2 separate regions of the Homo sapiens genome follow, and region 1 is linked to region 2. The links are contacts of gene promoters, found by promoter capture Hi-C in blood cells and fetal thymus (Javierre and others, 2016). All regions are on one chromosome and are shown on one strand. Each heading gives the region's core, a stretch centred on a gene start or on the middle of the fragment in contact. The rest is flanking DNA. Distances are from core to core; before and after follow the strand shown.

The links. Contacts are between HindIII fragments. The CHiCAGO score rates a contact against its expected background, and 5 or more counts as called.
Region 1: a fragment that was not itself captured here is called in contact with the fragment with the promoter of NLGN4X in region 2 in 1 of 17 cell types (fetal thymus); the score reaches 12.1 in fetal thymus.

The regions. Positions count from the first base shown.
Region 1 is chrX:7,084,182-7,088,551 of GRCh38, forward strand. All of the region lies in intron 2 of PUDP (pseudouridine 5'-phosphatase), which reads right to left. Among named protein-coding and RNA genes, the nearest start is that of STS, 61 kb to the right of the region's middle. The HindIII fragment of the contact is 6,973 bases long and covers 1-4,370 here.
Region 2 is chrX:6,227,617-6,232,055 of GRCh38, forward strand. It overlaps NLGN4X (neuroligin 4 X-linked), which reads right to left and starts at 1,251. Exons shown (of 6, transcript NM_181332.3): 1 at 925-1,251. LOC105373156 (a long non-coding RNA gene) reads left to right here. Exons shown (of 1, transcript NR_136577.1): 1 at 1-2,675. The HindIII fragment of the contact is 2,801 bases long and covers 1-1,771 here.

The DNA of each region.
Region 1 (4,370 bases), core at 904-3,403, 860 kb after region 2:
AACCCGCTGGGATTCACCACAACACCTCCAGCAGCTGGCTGCAGTTATTGCGGTTGTATGTATGTGGTTAGAAACTTCCACTCAAGAATGAGTCACAACCTCTGCACTCCCAAGACCCCATGCAGACATCCAGTGAATAAACTGCTTATTTCCTGCCGTCTGTTTTCCTCATCCTCGTACTCCATCCTCTCTGTTCTTAGGAATGGAAGGCAGTGGTGGGGGCAGGAATCATTCCTTTTCCTTGCAGTACATGTGTGCAGCATGGAATAGAAAGTGATTTCAGATACATAGTGGGAAGGTGAGCTAGTTTTCCTTTGACTCCATCCATGGCTTATGAAGCAAGCTGAATGCTGGCTGTGGGGGTGTGAGGATGGCCCCTGCACTACACAACAATGCTCAGAGTTTCTCAGGGTTTGTGTTTCCAATTAGGAGGCCACGCTTGGCTGGCACATGCTGGGCCCTCAATAAATATCTATGACCGATATTGAATGGACAATTAAGGCAAAGGTCATTAAAAATAACATTTGGCTATGTGAAAATCACTCAGATTCTAGATTTTAAGTGTTCTCCCCACAAAACATGATGAGAAAGTGAGATGATGCATGTGTTCATTACCTTGACGCAGCCACTCCACAATGTATACATACTTCAAAACACGTTGTGTGTGATAACTATATACGATTTCTATTTGTCAATTAAAAAATAAATAAGTTAAAAAAATAGCATCCGGTTATCCGAGTTCATGGTGGGGAGCCTTCTCATGAAGCGGTTAGCATTCTCCTTTACACAAGACAGACCTGTTACTCTCTAATAAGATGCTGCCTCCTGGAAAATGTGTACCCAGAGAGCACACACGGTCCAGCAGACGTCGCTGTTGTGGTATAGCACATGGAGGCAGGGGATAAGATTCGATGTGATTGACAGGCACATTTATCCAAGAGAAAACTTTCAAGATCTGATGGAGTAATGCAGGGTTTCCATTCTTATTTCTTGCCTACTTGAAGTTCCTTGAGCGAGCTGAAAGCACTTACTGTTGCGAGGCTTCCTAAGGAAACATCAGTTCCAGGTTCTTCACAAATGTCACACGTGATCTCACAAGGGTACCATGTTCTGAACAACACTGAGCTTTGGAATACTAGAATTGTTGGCACTTCACAATGCAAGGACTTGTCTCGCTCTCTGAACCCTGGGTTTTACGTGGGCAACTTGGCAAGTCCACGAGCCTTCGGTCATCAATGGACAGTCAGGGGCCACATGCAGGAAGCTGTTGCTGTGTGAAGAGCTGATGCCCTGAGAGAGTGACCAAGAAGGGAGAAAGATGTCTGCAGGTCAAACAGGCACCTGGGATTCCATAAAATGGATGCAAGTTAACTTTAAATCATAAGGGGTAAGCTGTGTAGGTCAGGTATTTACAAAGGGGTCCACGAAATGGATTTTAGCAAACTTCCTTTAAGTTTAACATCTGTTTAACTTTTAAAAACATATGCTGATGCATTTATTTCTTGTTCAAGATTTATCGAAGGAAACATAATTCCATGAGGACACGCTGCTACCATTGTGATAAATGGATTGGTCATGCTCAGTGACAAAAGTGTCTCCTGGACCAGACTCTACTCAGGCTGCTCTGAGTCTTTTTCTCCACAAGGCCCCCACACTGGCCTATAAAGACTTGAACAAGTTCAACAGCTCAAGGTCACACCGCTACATGACTCTAGCCCCCTTAAAGTACTTGCCTACGAAAACTCAAGGCTGCCAAAATAACTGATTGTTGGTTCCAGCCACTCCTGCAGACAAGCCTCTGTGGAAGGGCAGGAGCCTGACTTCTATCAGCACCAGTGAAACCCAGATGGCTTCACACTGACCAAACCCTCTTCCTGCTTTCTGCAATTTTCACTTCCCCAACTCTGCTGAGCCCCTGCTGACCCCTCCCTACTCCCTGAATTTCCCTTTAAAATGCCCAGTCACCTCTGGGATAATTGATGTTGAGCCCAGTTTCACATTGGTCTCTTTTCTCTATTGCAATAGTATATTATGGAAGAAAATCTGTGCTGATCGCTTTAACTACTGTCTGGCTGTGTTTATCCTTGACACTAGAAAATAACCAAAGTCAAATTCCCCAAAGCATATAGTATTCACATTCATATATATAGTTTTAAAAACTGTGACTTTAAGTATAAATTTAAAAGAAATATTAACTAATTTAGGAAATCTGGCTAATATAGATTCTTGATTTTTTATAAGTTCTGTATGTTTATCTATTAAAATGGAACCATCACTTACAAACACTACTGTGCGCTTTTTAGTTCCCTCACAGGAAACCTCTGGTAGCCACAGCCACTGTGAGTGGGCGTCTCTTAATGATTTACTGCAGAGCCATGCCTCAGGCTATCCCTCTTCTGATCTTCTCCAAGCTCTAGGGAGCATGCTTCTTTCTCAGACATCATTGATTTTGGCAGAGCACCTCCTTCCTTTTTCTAGGCCTTCCAAATGAATTCTGCTCTTTTGAAAAGGTGCTTGCTGCTAGGGAGAGGGCCCTTGGCTGTGTGCAGATCTTCAGTCCTAATTTACTAGGGACCCGGCACCAACTCAAAGCTAATATCAGGGATCGCCACTTATGGAATTTGCACCACAGGATCCGGCTTATGGAATTGAGTGACTAACCTATATCCTGGACGTAAGACAGTGTGGTAGTGTGGAAGGAAAGGAAACAGGAGAAAGGAATTGGGTTGAGGGGCTGGAAGAGGAGCAAGGCTCTGGCAAGACTGGCTGAACCTCATGGAACACTCCAGCCAAACACGACTGACTGAGTCCGCGCCCCAGCTCAGGGCCCTCCTGGGGCAACCTGAACAGTGGCAGTCTGAGCTGGGAGTAGGAAAGTATGGGTGGAGGTGTACTGGCTTGACAGTGCTCTCCCCACAAAATTCATGTTCACCTAAAACGTGGGAATAGGACCTTAGTTGGAAATAGGGTCTTTGCAGATGTAATCAAGTTATTATGAGGCCATACTAAATTAAGGTTGGACCCTAAATCCAAAGAAAGGAGAGGGAAATTTGGAGACAAAGACACACAGGACGAGGGAGGGCGTGTGAAAATGGAGACAGAGATTGGGGAGTTGAAGGTACAAGCCAAGGAAAGCTAAGGGTGGCCGGCAACTACCAGCAGCTGAAAAGAGGCAGGAAGGATCCTTCCCTAGAGCCTTGAGAGGGAGTGCAGCCCTGCTCACACCTTGACTTCGGACTTCTAGCCTTCTGAGGTGTCAGACAGTTAAGTTTCTGCTGCTTTAAGCCACGGAGTTTGTTAATTAACACAGCACTACCAGGAAGCTAATACAGTGGGTTGACCCTGGAGGAGAAAACTTGGATAGACTGAGGTTCTATCTGTGAGATGACCTTAAACCATCTTAATTATCTTTCTCAAATTCTGGTACTTGACACACAAATTTGTGATACTTGATGGGGAGACAGTGTGGGAAACCTGTGTTTCCTTTTTTGGCAAACATTAAATACTGACAGAAATAAAGCAGTTATGAAAATAAATATAAACTAACTCCTTTCAAATCTTCAAACAAACAGTTGCAAGAGTCCAGTTTACATTTATTTGGTCTGCTGGTCCCAGGGCAATACAGGCGATGAGCATCCGACTGCCTTTGCTGTTCTACCCACAGCTGGCTGCTTGCTTTGTGGCAATAGGTGCTGTCTAATGTTCTCCGGGGTCACTGAAATGTGATCGGCCTAAACTCCTCCAGCCAAAGAAGCACCTTTCTCTAGAATCTCGTTATCAGTATCACTGATGGCACAGCTTGTGTTCTGGTCCAATTTCATAGACTTATAGCAGAATTTTAGATTAAAATGGAAAGCCAGGGAGGGCAATTCAAACCACTGATCAATGCCTGGTAATTAAGGATGGATCAAATAATAAAAATTAAAACAAAACTATTTTTTTCAGCCATTGAAAATAAAAGAGACAAAGTAATATAGAGAGTAATGCAGAAATTTTATTTAAGGAAAATTAATTTTGCATTTCTACATTAGTTTTTATGAAGTAAACGTAGGACTACAGCGTGTAATTTTTTTTTTAAGTAGCAACAGGATTTTACCAGGCTGGTCTCAAACTCCTGTCCTCAAGCAATCTGCCTACCTTGGCCTCCCACAGTGCTGCAACTACAGGTGTACAATGTGATAGTGGGACTGAATGGTCTCTCTCATTCCTCTGCTAAGCACTAGGACTTTAGAAGAAAAGCCTCTCCACCTGATCCTACTGACCCTAAGTGCCCCTCCTCCAGGCAGGACTTGACACCTTAATGTTAAAAATGACTCAATATTTCCCTGTGCTGTAGATTTGTCTCTGTAACAACTTAACGTGAAAATTTC
Region 2 (4,439 bases), core at 1-2,500:
TCGAAACCCACACACACGGGAAAGGGGTGCATGGAGCCCGCTCCCCGGTTTACAGAAGCAGCCCGGAGCTACCGTCATTTCATCTTCACGCGGGGTCTCCAGCGCGCCTGGATCGTTCCCTAGCCAAGCCAAGCCAGGTCTAATCAATCACGTGCGTTATTTCGTGCATCACCCAAGCCGTCATCTTATCCGAGGCCCGGAGATGAAGGAGGGAAAAAAAATCGCTTAAATGCGACCCCAACCAAGCCGGTTTTCCCTTTTTCTTTCTGGTTAACAGCACCCCCCCAACCCCTCAAAAAAGCACCCCAGGCGGTGGTAGCTGACAGTTTTCTTAAAGAATAAGGGGGGGGGGTGGGGGGGGAGAGAAAAAGAAAAGAAAAGCCTCCCATGCCTCACAGTTTGCAGAAGTCTTCCTGCCTTCACCATCTCCAGCCCTGGCCGCTTCTCTCCTTCTTCTCCCTGTACTGCAGATACATATATATTTTTTTCCTCCTCTCCCCGCCACAGTCTTCTGTTTATTTGTGTGGAAGGCAGCGCTACTTTGTAAACACATCACACACGGCCCCAGAGCCGTTCAAATAGCTGATTGCAGCAAAACGCTTCCAAACAACGGTGGTCTGGATTTTTCTCTTTAAGTGAAAATAAAACCAAATATTTCTGTGGAGAGGTTGCATGTAAAAACCGTATGAAGGTCTACACTCCCACCCACACCTAAGAAATGCAGCGAGACAGATGGGAGAAAGTCCTGTCCAAATTTTCCAAAAATAATATTAATAATCATAAAAGGAAAAAATAAAGATCAGATGAAGTGAAGCTCAAGTATCTGCAGTGAGGCTTTCCATCCTTTGCTGCAAGTCAAAATGTTTAAACGGCTTTTTAAAATGAGAATAATGTCCCAGAGACAGGTCTTAAAACTGCACCTACCTTAGCTTTGGAAGAGCTGCATCGGCCGTTAAGAGTTCTTTTTACACGTCCAGATTTTTCTAGGGAACCCGAAACGAGGTATGATTCAGGAGGATGTATTGAAAGCCCAGGAGCCTTCCCCTTCTGGAACCCCCCAACTAGATTTCCTCATCCAGAGGAATGCAAGAGCCACCAACACCGCCTAGTTTGGAGGAAATTCGTTGTTTCTGCCGCCAATAGTCTGTGGACGGGCAGAACAAGCATTACAATTGAAGCAGGAAGGGCCAAGCTAGTGGCTGAATAAGAGCTCTGTGCTAAGAGACAGAGAAGGGAGAGAGACGGTTCTGCAAGAAAAAGAGAGATTGAGGAGAGAGGTCCTGCTGTCTCCGGGGCTCTCCCTCTGCCATTGGACCAAACTGAATGAAATTTACAAAGCCAGCAGCCAATAGATCTCCGGAGTCGGCCCCATCACTACAGAAACCACATCCACAGCTACAACCTCATGCAAAGAGCTGCTAATCCCAATGCAAACCAGCTGTAACGGAGAGATCCCGGGTACTCGGGAGATAGAGCAGGTGGGCATGGCAAACGGTGCCACCGCACCAGACGCGTACAGCAAACCTTCTTCCTCTTTGCTTTTTTAGGACTCTCTAGATACCCTCCACACCAAACATGCTGCAGTATATGCAAACATCTTTAACTGTTTAAGGTCACGATCTCCAGCAGTCTCTATGTCTGCGTTATTGTAATTCATTTGGGAAGCAATGATATAAAAAAAATTTTTAAGAGCAGCAAAATTTGGAATACAGTTCTGTAAAGTACAGGACCTGTTTTATGCTCAGGGTATGGTTGAGAGGGGATCGATGAAAGCTTTTTGTTTACTTCTATTCTTATACTTTCATGATTTTGATAAAATGTTGGAATTGTGCCCAGGATGAGGCATTTGTTTTTAAATACGCCTCTTCATTTCCAGGGTCCAGGAGGTTATCTTTCCCAGGGAGTTTCAAGTTGCGGGGGGCGAGGACGGGGGTATGACCCCTGTACTTAAAGTTGAGTTGGAGAAAGTTGGATTTAAATTGGCAATGCAAAGATCAGAGGGCATAATAGAGTGTTGTGACAATGAACACGGATTTTAAAATGAGATTGCTTGGGTTCAAGATGCATGTGACCTTAGGTGTGTATTTTAATCGTTTGCCTCCATTTCTGTATCTGTAAAATGGAACAGATAATCACCGTGTAATACTGTAATGATTAGCTGAGTTAATGTGTGGGGCCAGGTAGTCTTCACAACAATATTACATGGTGATTACTTTTATTCTTCTGCTTGGCCAGAAAAGTTAGCTTTTCTTAAAATTATTTCATGGCCCATTAATTCATTTATGGAAGGAAAAAGATAGTGTCCGCAACACATAGGATATCCTCCTAATTGCTTCGGCTTTAGGCAGTAAACCAAAGCATGAAGCCTGCCATGGTGATGTGAAGGATATTTGGGCAGCCTGACCAATAATGGGGAAGGTGATAGACACCAATTTGGGGACCTGGTTTCATGTTAAGACTCTATCCTCACAAACTTTGCCTTGTTGTAAAGTCAGTTATGTTCTGTGAATCTGTTAAACTGAGATTAAAATTACCTTTCCTGTGGATTTCTTGTGGAGACTAAATGAAATAATATGTATAAAAGCACCTTTTACCAACAAGATAGGTACATAAATATACACTTATCTATTAATAGATATCTATACCCAATAATAAAAAAAAATATATCCATCCATACATACGTGTGTGTTCCAATTATTGGATAGATATTTAGAAATATGCATGTACTTTTTCCGTTATTGTATAGATATTGAAGACCCATTAACATAGTAATATTGTTAATAAGTATAGCTTATTCCCCAAATCAGTGATATACATGGATATGGATATATAGCTGCAGATATATGGACATATATATAGATATCTATATCCTAAACTAAAGCAGAATCTCACCTTGAACACAGTAATTTATAGTAGGCCAGAAAGTCATGGGTTTTGCCAAGAATGTATTAATTCATTGACTTATTCATAAATTCAGGGTTGTTTTTTTTTTAGCACTGGTGCAGTCCTAAGCACTGACATGCATCTGTGAGTGAAACTCATCCATTTATTTTTGAGAAAGCATACAGTCTAGTGGACAAGATAGCCAAAAGCATGAGAAAAAATATGATTACAAGAAGGTGTGCACAAGGAATACATATGAATTCATAGGGACCCATGGAGGTGAAAATGATTAAAGAAGGGTTTGCAAAGGAAGAACTTTCTGAGTAGGGAAGAAATGGTACACAGACACTGATTGGGTCAAGAAGTTGAGAAAGAAGCCATGGATAAAGACATCATAGCAATACTGTATGTGTGGAGATCTAGAAATAGGGAGGGTTTGGAATGCCATGACATTGAGTATGAAAAGAAGGTGGTAAGGAAAGGATTAAAGACCTAATTGTGAAGAATTTTGAGTGCCATACTGAAAAGGTGGAATTTATCCAGTAGGCAGTGGGAAAGCCAGTAACATATTTTCTGCAGGGAGAGGGGAAGAAATGATCAGATTTATATTTTAGGACAATCACTGTGATGGCAATATGGAGAACAAGTTGAAGAGGGCCAACGTGGAAAGAAAAGAAAATATTTGTAAGATTGTTGCAAGAATGGATGCAACAAATGAAGTCCTGAATGAGAGACACAGAGAGAGAAAGAGAAAAGGAGAAAGGGAAGGGAGGAAAAAGGAAGGGAAGGGTAGTGAAGGGAAGAGAAGTTGATGTGGGGAGACATCACTTCTAAATAAGGCAGCATGATAAAGTAAGATTGGGAAGGAGAGTTTGGGCAAAATCTGAATGCTTGGCTTAGCTTGTGGGTGGATTGGTTGGGTACCAGATCTCTTCCCTGAGATATGTGACCTGGAAGAGAGCAGGCAAGCACATTTTCACTTCTATCTGAATGACTCCATTGAGAGTTTTTTAAAATAATTTGAAAAATAGGGCAACATAGTGAGACCCTGTTTCTATAAAAAAATTAAAAACTAGCTGGGAGTGGTAGTGCAGGAGGCTGAAGGGGGAAGGTCACTTGAGCCAGAGAGGTCGAGGCTGCAGTGAGCCATGATCGTGCCACTGTACTCCAGCCTGGGTTGCAGAATGAGACCCTCCCTCAAAAAAAGAAAAAAGTCAGAAAGCATCTTAGACAGGTGGAATCATGATTGTAAGAAAAAGTGAATATAAGATGTTATGAAATTATCATTTTCCCTAATCCAAAATCCCTTACAGGAGACCAGGATAGGACCCAAAACACCAATTTTTAACAACTGGGCCACCAGATTGCAACACAGACAGAGGAGCTACAGAGGTTTAGATCCACAATTCCTGGAAGAGATAAGAGTATCATTCTTCATGCTTCCATTTTAAATCTAATTGTGGAGTATGGTGAAATGTGGGAGCTGGGGGAGTCATAAAATGAAATAAAACTGTAGGGTTCCAAGAAAGATATATAAGCTGAGTTTGGTACAAGAA